Regions from separate parts of the Homo sapiens genome. Here region 1 is linked to region 2. Evidence: promoter capture Hi-C in 16 types of primary human blood cells and fetal thymus (Javierre and others, 2016). All regions are on one chromosome and are shown on one strand. Each heading gives the region's core, a stretch centred on a gene start or on the middle of the fragment in contact. The rest is flanking DNA. Distances are from core to core; before and after follow the strand shown. Region 1 holds the start of KIZ (kizuna centrosomal protein). Region 2 holds the start of SEC23B (SEC23 homolog B, COPII component).

Region 1 (7,504 bases), core at 1,787-4,286, 2.6 Mb after region 2:
CTGAGGTTGGGAGTTCGAGACCAGCCTGACCAACATGGAGAAACCCTGTCTCTACTAAAAATACAAAATTAGCCAGGCGTGGTGGCATATGCCTGTAATCCCAGCTACTCAGGAGGCTGAGGCAGTAGAATCGCTTGAACCAGGGAGGCAGTGGTTGCGGTGAGCTGAGATCATGCTATTGCACTCCAGCCTGGGCAACAAGAGTGAAATTCCGTCTCAAAAAAAAAAAAAATTTCTGCTGCATTGAGAGGCCGAGATGAATCAGAACAGGACTTGTTGGGTTTCCCACTCAATTAGTGTTAGATCATGTCCCCTTTGTCCAATCACGCTTCTACACGACTGTCGATCATGCCTATCCAATAAAGTCCCCATAAAAGACCCAAGGGGACAGGGTTCAGGAAGCTTCTGAGCTGGCTGAACATGTGGAGGAGGTTCCTGGAGGGTGGTGTGCCCGTGGAGGGCATGGAACCTCTACACCCCTTCCCCCAGACCTCACCTTATGAATCTTTTCATCTGTATCTTTTGTGATATTCTTATAATAAACTGGTAAATGTAATGTATATATACATATATATGGAAATATGTTGAAATTAGAATTTCCCAATATTAGAATATATGTACAATTCTAATTTCAATATATTTTCCAGAATCAATTTTGTTTTTGAGCTACAAAAACAACAATTTCATTTGGTTCACCCAAAGATTCATGTGACTTCTGGGCCGAGACACTGGCTTCCCTTGCTGTTTGCTTAATGGGACCACTAGGGATCCATATTTTGAACTAGACTCGTTAATATTACATAGATTTCCAGCTAGGTGACTTTGGCCAAGCCCCTTATCTGCCCTGAACCCTTTTTCCCCTGTAAAACAAGGGGGTGGGGCTAGACTCCCTCTAAGTTCTAGCTAAGACATTCTAGGACTTAGAGGAAGCCTTGATCTAGGCAGACTTGATGACCCTTGGTCCAGTGAGCTAAAAGCAGGGCTGCTTACAGAAATCAGCTCAGCTAAATAAAGAGTTTGAAGAAAAATATTAAAATAGAGGGCTCTGGCAAATTAAATATTCAAAGTGAAGAACTCAGAATTTATTGAAAGCCTGTCACCATTTAAAATGCATAATTTTAGCATAAATACTCTAGAAATATTCCTTTTGTTTGCTATGTGTTATTGTTAATAAAGGAGATCCTACATCTAGATTTGTCATACGTCATTAATGAATCAACCATAGGATGTAAATTATAATTATTTTGAATTATCTATTTACTGTTTAATTACATTTAATTTTAGATTCTCCTAAAATGGCCTAATAAAAATTTTGGGTGCTAAATGACTGCCTCATCTGCTTACTCTGTGCTACTTGCTAAAATTAGTTATATTAATTGTTTGGGGATTCTTTTTCTTAAAAAAAAAAACTAACCCTGGGGGCATGGTCCTAAATAAAATATCCTAAAAATTTAATGCTTTTCTTTTCTTTGCCAGGGTTGTAGTAAAATGTTAGTTACACTAAACTCATTAAAATAAACCTTTGCACATTACCACTGAATCAATTGGATATAATCTGAATAAAAACTAAATAAAAGTCACATCAGTGCTACCCTTGGACCAGGGCAAGAAGGCCTCTGCCCTGGCTTCTGTGTATTAGAGGTTCTGTTCTAGCCCTTCTCTGCCCATGCTGCTCCACGCAAGGCAAGGAGGTCCCAGGGCCAGATGACAGGCCCACCTGGGGTGCTCACACACATACACACACATGCTCTTCTAGAACACGTTCTAAGTACCCAACACCCTTACCTTCCCTGCTCAAAGGGGCCCAAGCTGCTTTCTAAGGCTTTAAAAGGCCTCTTGGCTGGGTCTTTCCTGCAAGGGTGACCATCACTGGCATGCTCACTGCCCGGCCAAGAGGAGGCTGAGGTGGGGATGTAGGCAGAGTTGGGACTTGCTGGCTGGAGAAGAGGAGGAGAAGAGGCAGGGCACACACATCCCTGCTAGTGTATGAGACCCCCTCACAAAGCAAGACTGAGCCTGGGGTGGGAAATGGAGTTGGGGGGAGCTGGAGAAGCAGGCAAACTAAATTCCACCCTGGTTGTCCAGGTTCTTAAGAAGGCATATTGGTCAAAGTGGAGAGGAGAACACGTATTTTACCTAAGTTTGTTATCTTGAATTATAATTCAATATTTAGGCGGATGGTATGAGGGCCTCCATTCACACTCTTGCCCTGGAACTGGCAAATGTGAATGGAAGGCTGAGTAAAATCATAGTTTTGTGTTGTTGGCCTTTGAGTGTTCCATCTCTCTTACAATTTTAGTTTGTCACACCTTGCACCTTGTATGTGTAAGTAAAATTAATGGCATAGGAAAGAAACCAAAAGAAGTGAACAATAAGAGACTAAAGAAACTCTACAGGCCGGGCATGGTGGCTCATGCAAGTAATCCTAACACTTTGGGAGGCCAAGGTGGGTGGATCACCTGAGGTTGGGAGTTCAAGACCAGCCTGGCCAACATGGTGAAACCCCGTCTCTCCTTAAAATATAAAAAATACCAAAAAAAACAAAAATTATCTGGGTGTGGTAGCGCACACCTGTAATCCCAGTTATTCAGGAGGCTGAGGCACGAGAATCTTTTGAACCCGGGAGGCAGAGCTTGCAGTGAGCCGAGATCACGCCACTGCACTCCAGCCTGGGCAACAGAGTGAGACTCTGTCTCAAAAAAAAAAAAAAAAAAAAGGAAAGGAAGGCAGAGAAGCAGGCTAAGGCTTAATTTTTCTGCCCAGTGGGTTTTGAAATATGGTTGGCTTCCTTCAGGAAGCTTTTTCCCGACGTTGGTGATGATAATAAAACCTGATGCTTTCTATGTGCTGGGCCCACTTATAAACACTAACACATATTAACAATCGAATCCTAAACTAATCCTGTGTTAACAGCCTCCCACTTTACATATGAGGAAACCTGGGGTGACTTGCACACGGCTTGGCAGCTGGGACGTGGATAGGGAATGTACACCCAGGCAGTCTGGCTCCCGGGCTCCTGCTAGAGGATCCTACAGGACATTAGGAGCATTGTCCCTTAGAGCTGTCTGCACAAACGTCTGCTTCCCAAGCAACTAGTTATCAACTTTTCCCTCTCGCCAACGATACTGGCACCTGGAACAATCCTTAGATTCAGCACGGATTTTCGAGTAAGGGGTTGGTCCACTGTCGGGGCTGAGCACGGCTGTTTAGCATTTGAGGGTTTGTCTTTTTTTACTTGGTGTTTTGTGTCGCTTTTGAGTGCTGATATAATAGAACAAGCTTAGTACAGTGCCTGGCACTCAACAAATCCTGGCAAGAAAGGAGATCGAGGAAAAGAAGCAAGCGAGAGACGAAAGAAAGGGAGGGAATGCGCCTTGTAACATTAACGTAGCTTGTGCGAATCCTGGAAGGTGAGGGGAAAGGAGACACCGCGTCAAGGGAGAGAGGAGAGGGCACCGAGCGCCCGCCCCTCCGACGTGGTCCGCCCCGGCCTCACGACGCCCCGCCTCTGCCACGCCTCTTCCCCGCCCCATGCAGGTCTTCGTCCCGCCCCCCACAAAGCCGGCTTCCGCCCCGTCCCTCAGCGGCGCCCCGCCCCCACGGCGTCTTGCCCCGCCTCCTGCAGGCGGCCCGGCGCGGTGTTTACCCGCGGTGCATGGTGGGGCGGTCTCCTTCGGCAACCCCGGCCGAACGGCCACCCAGAGGCTGTGCTGAGCTGGCGCAGCGGCAGCAGCATGAGCCGGACCCTCGCATCGGCCGTGCCCCTGTCGAGTCCCGACTACTACGAGAGGCTGGGCCAACTCCAGCACGGGCTGCGGGACAGGTAAGGGCACTGGGGCGGGGGTGGGGAGTCGGCCCGCGCCGGGGGTCTTCCGCGTGCCCTGCCCCATTTTCCTTCCCGCTCCCCCGTCCGAGGTTCCCCGGGGCCCAGGCCCGCGCGCAACGCCCCCCAGGCTCCCAGTGGGGCCTGGAGGACAGTGTTTACTAGAGCCACCCCCTGTATTGGGGGTGGGAGCGGAGAGAGGTGAGAGACCGCCCCCGCCCCGTCAATAGCAGCTAAAGCCTGGTCTACGGTTTGAGGATGCGGCCGCGTCACAGAATTTGCCCAGAAGTGAAGGTGGGAGTTCTTCTGCCTGTCACTCTCCATCAAGCCTTGTGAGTTTCTCTTGTCCCCTTTTACACGCCCCCTCCCCACTCTCTTCAAATTGCCATCCCGCCGTGACAGCTGCACTGCATCAATGATGACAAGTCCTGGAACGCAGACGGTTGTGTGTGTGTGTGTCAAACATGTGCCCCCGTTTAAACTCAGGAGACTTTTAGGGGTAGCGAGGGCTGGCTAGATTTCCAGCGAAGGGATGAAATTTCCAGCTAGAGAAGTCCAGCTTCCAGAGGGTTCATGATGCCTTTGATTAAGATATGAAAGATGGGAACCACTGAAAACAGCTAGATCTAAGAGTGCATATAGAGAGAAAATTATACCGCAATGTACTATGAATAACCACGTAAAAGATAAATTGCTGGACCTCTTATTTAGCTGCTAAGTTAATTGGAGTTGTAACTCTCATTAGTTGACAAGAAAGGAAATACATTTTTGGATCTCTTGATAAACAAAACATTTAATGAGTGTTAAAAGTTACAAAATCATTCTAGTGAACAGGAGAGCTGTGTGCGTGACAGTGCTAAAATGATAACAATAATTACATGGAAAATAAAGGCAGAAGTGAGCGATTTTGAAAAGGAATTACATTTATCTTACGCTAGATTTAATTCTTGTCAGATATTTATAGAGCATCTACAACAGGCTTCCTTAATTGTCGTTAGCATTTTTTTTACCTTGTACTCCTTTTCTACGTCCTATTTTCTTTCTGACATGTCACCGCTCACCCATATCAGTGACCTCTTAATTTCTGACTTTAAAAAGAAATCTCTTCCTGTAGAGCCTTCCCTGTTTCAACCCATTCCCTAACTTTTGTGACTCTTGGCATTCTTACAGCACTCATAAATGGCATTCTTTTTGAACTATTAATTGTAAGTTATTTTTGTTTCCTGTGCTAGGAACACCTGGCTGTTTATAGTCCTTATGGCACAATAACTGTATAATAATTATGTACTTTATGATTAACACTTATTTAATTATTAAACAAGGTGAGGCTGTTGAAAATATATAAGGAATGTGAATCAAATTTTATAGCCTGTTCACGGTTCTGCATTTCGAGATTTGTTTTATTTTTAAGTCAGTACAAATCTGTTGCTGTGTGTGTTCATTTTTCATTTTAAGAATTTATAACTAACTCAAATTAATGCACACTGGACACAGTTATAGAGGCAAATAATTCTAGATACAGAAAAGGCTGCAGTAGAAATATCAAAACCTGGATTCTAGTCCACGAACAATTGTGTGACCTTGAGCAGGTTGTTCCACCTCTCTGAACCTTGGTTCTTTACCAGGAATGAGGGGGCTTGACTAATATGCAAAGTAAGGCCACAGATTTTTTTCTTTCTCTCTTTGCTAGAATAATGGGCCTTAAAGTAAAAAAAGAAAAAAAAGCTGAAAGCTGTAGTTTTGCAAAGCAATGTGTAAAGAATATTATTGTCTGTATCCAATTTGAGTGTTTGGATGTACCTTTTTGTTTGTTTGTTTATTTGTTTGAAACATAGTCTCACTCTGTCACCCAGGCTGGAGTGCAATGGCATGATCTCAGCTCACTGCAACCCCCACCTCCCAGGTTCAAGCGATTGTCCTGCCTCAGCCTCCCTAGTAGCTGGGATTACAGGCGCCCACCACCAACCCCAGCTAATTTTTGTATTTTTAGTGGAGATGGGGTTTCACCATGTTGGCCAGGCTGATCTCGAACCCCTGACCTCAGGTGATCTGCCTGCCTCTGCCTTCCAAAGTGTTGGGATTACAGGTGTGAGCCACTGCACCCGGCCTTGGTTGTACCTTTTTAAACAAAGAAACACAAAGCATCCCACTGATCACAGATACCACTGTCTCCTAAAATTCCTGAGTCATTTCATAGGGAGCAACCCTGGGTAGTCACAGCTGCTTTATCAATCCAGAAACTTCTGGGAAGTGGGAGACAAAAAAAAACTCCCTCTTTCTCAGCCCTTTTAGAGGTGGTCATTGCAATGTTAGCTGGTCAAATAACCAGCATATTTCCAGCCCAAGTCATGTTAGCTGTAGTTACACGTAGATGTAATTTTATCGTCTGAATGTTTTCCTATGTGTGTACAGTGTTTTTTCTGCATTGTGGTGAAAGTCAATAATTGAATCTAAAAGAGTCTAATGGAGTGACTTGTTACAGTGTGTATAGCACCCACAAGCATGGTAGAAACTTATAAGTGGAATTGGCTCTTACGGTTATACAAAAACATCCTTTTAAAAGGGCCCATTAGCCAGCCGCGGTTTTTTCAGTGCCTATATTGATTCAGAGTAAGATATCATAATAGTCTAGAAACTGACACTGAGATATTAGTAGAGTAAGCTGAAGATGGTATAGAATTGTGGTATCGAGACAAAAACAGAATAACAAGTGGCTTAAAAGTAGAAAACTCAGCAAGATAAGGACCACTTAGCTGTGTAAAACTGAAAGGTCCAAGTGAGGGGTGACTGAAAACATGAACTATGGGTAAGCATCCCAGGGATGGGTATTTCAAAGATTCTGAATAGAGATTTAATATGTAAGAATTGCAAGCCATGGAAAGGCTTTTCATTGAGGCAAATATCTGGTTTTTAGTATTAAATTTTAAAAAGACATGGAGGGCTCAGCATTCTGAGGTGCTGCAGTGTGGATGAGGGGCTAGAAAATAGGCCTGTGAAGAAGAGTTAACAAGATTACCACCGTTTTGCCTGGGAGAGAAAGCCAAGAGGAGTTTGATTATCAGGGTATGAAGTGTTATGATAGAGAAGTGTGAGCAGCAGATGTCTGCATCTGCTGAAGATGTTTTACAAATAAATTTTACATTCATTACTAAGAAGAACTTGCTGCTTGGGAGGTGGTGGATTTCCAAAGTGACTGTGGTCCTTTTTCACTAGAAGTCATAGGTGAATTTTAGAAATTATTTTAAAGTGGCTGGGCGTGGTGGCTCACACCTATAATCCCGGCACTTTGAGAGGCAGAGGCGGGTGGATCACCTGAGGTGAGGAGTTTGAGACCAGCCTGGCCAACATGGCAAAACCCCGTCTCTACTAAAAATACAAAAATTAATTGGGTGTGGTGGCGCATGCCTGTAATCCTAGCTACTTGGGAAACTGAAACAGAATCCCTTAAACCCAGGAGGGAGAGGTTGCAGTGAGCTGAGATTGTGCCATTGTACTCCAGCTTGGGCAACAGAGTGAGACTCCATCTCAAAAAAAAAAAATGTGTGTATATATATATATATTTTTTAAAGTAAATTCTAGCTTACAAAAAAGTTGCGAATATAGGACAAAGACCTCCAGTGTTCCTGTCACCCAGATCCCTCAACTATTAACATTTTATTAGATTTTTGACACTGAGATATC
Region 2 (6,688 bases), core at 3,842-6,341:
AAATAGCCAGAACAGCCCAGGCTGTGTTCTAGCCTCACTAAAAACAAGATGTCCTTCAATGCTTTTACGGCTTTTCCCAGCTAGAATACAAGTGGGCATGCACAGACGAGACTCGATCTGCACCGTGTGGCTTTCCTGAGTCTTGAGAGACCAGCTCATGTTGAATCCTAGGTTTCTGCTGTCCCTTGCTGCTTCTCTGTGAGTAATAAATCCACTTCATGTAACTTGTGTATGTGAGTGTTCTGGCTCACCAGACTCGGGCAGGTAGTAGAAGTACAGCCCAAGATGCAGTGAACTGAATTGGTAACCAGTGCACAGTAAACACACTTTGAAGAACCCAGCAGGTTGCTGAATATTTGAATCGGATGTTAGGTAGAAAAGTCTGACCCAGAAATACAGAATTTAGGCTGAGCGTGGTGGCTCACACCTGTAATCCCAGCACTTTGGGAGGCCGAGGTGGGCAGATCACCTGAGGTCAGGAGTTCGACACCGGCCTGGCCAACATGGCGAAACCCCTACTAAAAACACAAAAATTAGCCAGGTGTGGTGGCCTGCGCCTGTAATCCCAGCCACTCACGAGACTGAGGCAGGAGAATCGCTTGAACCCAGGGGCAGAGGTTGCAGTGAGCCAAGATCGTGCCACTGCACTCCAGCTTGGGCAACAGAGAGAGACTCCATCTCAAAATAATAATAATAAAATAAAATAAATAAAAGAATTTAGACTCAGGCTACAGATGATGATAATATGTCAGAAAAATTATGAAAGATTTTGAAATAGTCAAAAGAGGTTACTGGGTGAACTTTCTGTGGAGTGCTGTGCATTTTTAAAAGACTCTCTGGGGGCCGGGAGTGGTGGCTCATGCCTGTAATCCCAGCACTTTGGGAGGCCGAGGCGGGCAGATCATGAGGTCAAGAGATCGAGACCATTCTGGGCAACATGGTGAAACCCTGTCTCTACTAAAATTACAAAAATTAGCTAGGCATGGTCGTGTGCACCTATAGTCCCAGCTACTCGGGAGGCTGAGGCAGGAGAATCGCTTGAAGCCGGGATGTGGAGGTTGCAGTGAACTGAGATCGCGCCACTGCACTCCAGCCTGGCGACAGAGCGAGACTTCGTTTCAAAAACAAAAAATCCCCTGGGTCATTTGCCGTAGGAGGGATGTACCTCTGCCTTTGAGTATGCTATTTTACAACTCTGTAGAGATAGAAATTAACTTATAGAAGATAGTAATGCAAATGTTCCCTGCCCACAACAATGAAAACTATTCCTGTCCACAGCAATGCAAATCAATTTTGTGTGATAGAGAATATGTCACTATAAATCAAATTCTCCTTAGAACCAGTCTGAACATCCCTCCTGGTCGTAGGGATTAATTAAAATCAATGAATGAGTTAAGTAAGATCTTTGGCACATGTTCATTTTATATTTGCATGAAGGCCATAATTTTACCTTTTGAAACACTTTAACAGTTTTGAAGCTTTCACCAACATCCCAATGGATTCACCTGACAGAACCAGGTAAACCACATTACTGAAGAACACCCCATGGGGCTAAGCCCAAGCACATTTTTTCCTGGCTCCGGGAGTGAATACCAAGTAGCAATAGTACTACAGCGTTGCTGACTTTCTCCCTAGGTTTCTTTCTCCTCCTTACTGATTTTGGGTTTTGTTTCTGATTCGCCCACAGCTGGCGGATTTTTCCCCATGAATGGCGACACCAATTAGGAACTCGCGGGAAACCCCGTTGCTCCCTTTCCCCTGGCTGGCAGCGCGGAAGCCGCACGATGCCTGGAGTTCCTGTAAACCACGTGAACCAGCGGGACTTCGTCAGAGCTCTGGCAGCCTTTCTCAAAAAGTCCGGGAAGCTGAAAGTCCCCGAATGGGTGGACACCGTCAAGCTGGCCAAGCACAAAGAGCTTCCTCCCTACGTTGAGAACTGGTTCTACACACGAGCCGGTTCCACAGCGCGGCACCTGTACCTCCAGGGTGGCGCTGGGGTTGGCTCCATGACCAAGATCTATGGGGACGTCAGAGAAACGGCGTCATGCCCAGCCACTTCGGCCGAGGCTTCAAGAGTGTCCTCCGCCGGGTCCTCCAAGCCCTGGAGGGGCTGAAAATGGTGGAAAAGGACCAAGATGGGGGCCGCAAACTGACACCTCAGGGACAGAGAGATCTGGGCAGAATTGCCGGACAGGTGGCAGCTGCCAACAAGAAGCATTGGAACAAACCATGCTGGGTTAATACATTGCCTCATTCAGAAAAAAAAAAAAAAATTAGGAACTAGGTTTTACATTCTGAACATTTGGTGATCTCTTTAAGTGAATTAATAGTTTTTAGAGATCTATTCTCTTTTGGATAAGAGATGATGAAAAATCTGGTTTGTTAGTCTTTTTGTTTGTTTGCCTTTTTGTCTACTTATGAGTTCAAATCAGTTAAGACTTCCATGCCCATTGGGAAGGAGAACAGCTTTTTGTTATCTAGTCCACTGAATTTTTATGTTTCTGAATTTACTTTCGACCTGTGGCCAAAGTTGCAGAACCAAAGCTATATGCTATGTGTCTATGTGTCTTCCCGGCTGTAATCAACAAAGGCCTTCCCCTCTTGTTGTGGGAGTAAAAAAATCTTACTACCTTTGTAAAGTTTTAATAAGTTATATTATTTCATGTCTTAAAGGAGCTCTGTTATAATTCACTTATGGAAACAAACACATGTAAATCAATTATTTCTAAAATTCCAGAAAATAAGTAAATTAAACTTATGCATGCAAAATTTCTTAAAAATGCTGAAACCATCCTGACAGGGTTAACAAGATTACAAGCCAGCCTTTAGGCAGGTTAGTTAGGCACTGACCAGGGTGCATTGGTGCCCTTCAATTCACTTCCCTGCAGCTGCTAACTAACCAAAAGCCTTGCAGCACACTGATCACCTACTCCCTGATTGCTCCTATCCACAGAATCTCTGACACTAGCTCTTTGTACCCAGGAATTGCTTAAGGTATTTTTCAGATCCTGAATTCCCACAAAACAGCTGATGCCAAACTGTCTAGGGATCCCCACCAGGAAGGGCACAGTGGCTCACGCCTGTAATCTTAGCACTTTGGGAGGCCAAGGTGAGAGGATCGCCTGAAGCCCGGAGTTTGAGACTAGCCTGGGCAACAAAGTGAGACCCTGCTTTACAAAAAAAAAATTTTTTTAAATAAATAAATAAAGACCTCCACCAAGAAACAACACTGGAATGAAGTTTCTTCATCTCCCTGTCCCATGACTTCACCTCTCACTTCCTGACCAATCAGAAATCCCCACACTTTAGCCCATTGCCCCTCCAGACTTCTTAAAAATGCCATCTCTAATCTCTTGGGGAGGTGGATTTGAGGATTGCTCTTGTCTCCTCATTTGGCTGCCACTTGATTATGGAACTCTTTATCTGCTGCAACTCCTATTCTTTCTGTTACCGCACAATGGACAATCGAACCTGATGGTCCTATAACAATCTTTCTTACAGAAATTGCTAGTACAGAAAGAATCCAGGTTCAAATAATCAAGGCAAATCTTTGGCGAATAATATTAAGTTTTGGTTAAAAAAAATCCCAGCTATGTCTTTTCTCAGTGTTAAGTATTATACATGTGTACATTTTGAGTTTGTTTCCTTACCGAGAATAATTAATCTGAACTTCCTAAATTTATAAAAGTTTACTATTGATAAGCTAATATTAACATTACATTGTTTAAGATCCTGAAAAATGTGAATTTGTTCAACAAAACTGAATCATTCTCACATTTAACAGTAATTGTTTCTTTGTGCCTTAAACTATTAATAATTTCTATGATCTGTAGATAACTTAAAACTTAGTATTAAATTGAGCTAATTAATGGATACTTCTTGGATGCCTAGATATGTTCTTGCATAATTTTATGTTTACATCGTTTTGCTTATTTTTATATGCTACAGAGACTACAACTCTGAGTCACAGTAATGATGTGTTCATGTTTGCCACTTGTCAGCGTGTGTAAAAATGGTTGTGGTGGCTTTATACAGTTGTGTTCTATCGCGCCTTTTGCAGCAACATGGATGCATCTGGAGGCCATGATCCTAAAAGAATTAACGCAGAAGCAGAAAACCAAATACATGTTCTCACTTGAAAGTGGGAGCTAAGCATTGGGCACACATGGACACAAAGGTGACATTAATAGACGCTGGGGACTACTAGAGTGGGGAGGGAGGCAGGGAGGGGCTGAAAAACTTGGGTACTATGCTCAGTATCTGGGTGACCAGCTCATTCGAATTCGAAACCTCATAGCCAGGTAACAAATACGCAGTGTACCCCCTAAATCTAAACGTTGGAATTATTTTTTAAAAGAAAGTTATGTTCCATGTATTTCTAAGCTTACTCTCCTAAAATGGTTGAATATTACAGTTCTCAATTATTTATCTCCATGTAGAAGGATGACAGGGACTGTGCGCTAGTGCCAGCCTCCGCTGAGAGCGCCAAGACATTACAGCAAGCGACGGTAGGAGAGCTTGTAACGTGAAGCACCACCACACCTCTGTACTTCAAACTTAACCACAGAGACCGACTCCCAAACCAGCAAGTGCGTAAGCGCCGCCGCGCTCACCACCCGCCCCGCCCCTTCCGCATGCTAATGCCTTCTTCCGGCAGCCTTAGTTTCTTCCAACCAGTGCAGCTCCCTGTTCCGCGAGCATACGTCATCGTTCTCGCTTTCCGGTAGCTAAGGCGATCAGCGGGACTTCCCACTGAGACGAGCGGATGTCATATTGTATCAGGGCGAACCTCTGAGGAGCGCTGGCTGCGCTTAGGCAACGGTGCGGCAGGCGCCGGGGTTTTCTGAAACAGAAACGTTTAGGGGTGGGGAAACGTGTTCCGAGGAACTCTCGTTTTGAAGTGCGACATACACCTGTCTTGCCCTGTTCCAAGATGGTGGCAGAGCTTCTCTGAGTCTCTCGCTTCCTCCAGTCCGTCGGAGAAGCGCTCTTTGATTGGCCAGTGGACAGCGCCGTGGCATGACGCGCTGGGGCGCTGGCCAATCGGTTGAGAGCTGAGCTGGACTTGGCGGTGGGAGCCGGAGCCTGCTTGTTGCAGCTGTGGGTGAGGACGGCTCTAGCTAGGTGAGCGGCTCCGGCCAGGTGAGCGGGGCGCATAGGTGACGGAGGGCCGAGGGCACGGGTATGAGTTTCTGCCGGGGGCGAGGTGAGCGGCTTCTGGGAGGAGGCCTTTTCTTGACAGTTTAGGGTAGCGGGGGAATGGATGATCCGGGAGTCCCCTGCGGATGTCGTCCCGCACCAGGCCGGGACCGATTTCTGGCTCCAGTTTCCCCAGAATTGCGGAGTGCGCACACCTGGAAGGACCCAAGTCCCGTTTTATAGTTGAGAAACTCAAGACTCAGACAAGTGAAACGACTTTTGCTTCATGACAGCTGGAACTGGAACCCAGGTCCTTGGACTCCCTTCAAGGATTAAACCTCACTTATTCTTACATACACATGGTCACTGTGTCCTGAGAAGTTACGAGTTGGCGCGATAAGGGTGGTTCAGATTTTTTGGCATATTCTCCTGTTATCTTTCCAGGCCTTTCATTCATTCACTAATTCATACTTTCAGTTATTTACCTCTTCAGATACCTTCCCCGATACTTTGGTAAAAGCTATGGACCCATCTCCCTAGAAAAACGGCATATTCCCTCATGCGCATAACTTCAGATGATTAGTGGACCTTCTATAGTCCCCTTGGATTATGTGTCCACTGCTAAGAATCCAGACCCTAGAAGGGTGAGGGAAACAGGCAGTAGGAAAAGGAGGGAGCAGGTCTTAGGCTGTACATGCTTGGAAACCATTAGATGGAGGCAGTAGCTTCTTTTTTTTTTTTTTTTTTTTTGAGATGGAGTCTCGCTCTGTCGCCCAGGCTGGAGTGCAGTGGCGTGATCTCGGCTCACTGCAACCAATGCCTCCCAAGGTCAAGCAGTCCTCCCTGCCGCAGCCTCCCGAGTAGCTGGGATTACAGGCACCTGCCACCACGCCCAGCTAATTTTTGTATTTTTAGTAGAGACGGGGTTTTGCCATGTTGGCCAGGCTGGTCTTGAATTCCTGACCTCAGGTCATCCACCGGCCTCGGTCGCCCAAAGTGCTGGGATTACAGGCGTGAGCCACCGCGCCCGGCCGCCAGTGCCTTTTAATAAAGAACGTTTTGAGAGAGAGACGGTTATTTAATGAAATCTGCTGACATACTTGCTGAGAGTTGTGATAGAACTTGCTTTCATTCCGACTTTAGTTATCCCTTTGCTTCCCATGAAGCTCCAGAGTGCTTCCTGTGCACACAGTGCTTCAGGTTCTTGCCGTTGCCAGAAATAAACAGATTTCTTAGAGTTTCAGTTGGAGCAAACATTGGAATTCTTGTGTTCTGGGCTTTATGTAGTAGAGTAATTCATTTGCTTTTCTAGCCATGCAATATTATTGCCTTAATCAAAATTATTTACAGTATGGTACTTCCCAAAATAACAGACAGTTGTTATCCATATTCAGGAAGTGGGCGCGAGAGGCCACTTTAATTTGATAGACTCTTTAATTTGCCTTTTTACTACTTTTCTTGAGGGGCTTGTTCCCTTGAACCCCAATAGCTGAGTTGTGTGTTACCCTAGATTTTAGGATATGAACAGGATGTATAAATACTCAATGAA

What was found. The method cuts DNA at HindIII sites, captures the fragments that hold promoters and counts their contacts. A CHiCAGO score of 5 or more calls a contact.
Region 1: a contact is called between a fragment that was not itself captured here and the fragment with the promoter of SEC23B in region 2, in 1 of 17 cell types (fetal thymus). The highest score is 6.1, in fetal thymus.

Annotation. Positions count from the first base shown.
Region 1 is chr20:21,122,382-21,129,885 of GRCh38, forward strand. KIZ (kizuna centrosomal protein) reads left to right here and starts at 3,701. Exons shown (of 13, transcript NM_018474.6): 1 at 3,701-3,823. The coding sequence starts at 3,735. RefSeq lists enhancers at 3,170-3,269, 4,170-4,219 and a silencer at 3,430-4,009. The HindIII fragment of the contact is 481 bases long and covers 2,797-3,277 here.
Region 2 is chr20:18,502,849-18,509,536 of GRCh38, forward strand. SEC23B (SEC23 homolog B, COPII component) reads left to right here and starts at 5,092. Exons shown (of 20, transcript NM_006363.6): 1 at 5,092-5,124. It also overlaps the pseudogene RPS19P1. RefSeq lists enhancers at 4,633-4,962, 5,313-5,362. The HindIII fragment of the contact is 4,172 bases long and covers 4,382-6,688 here.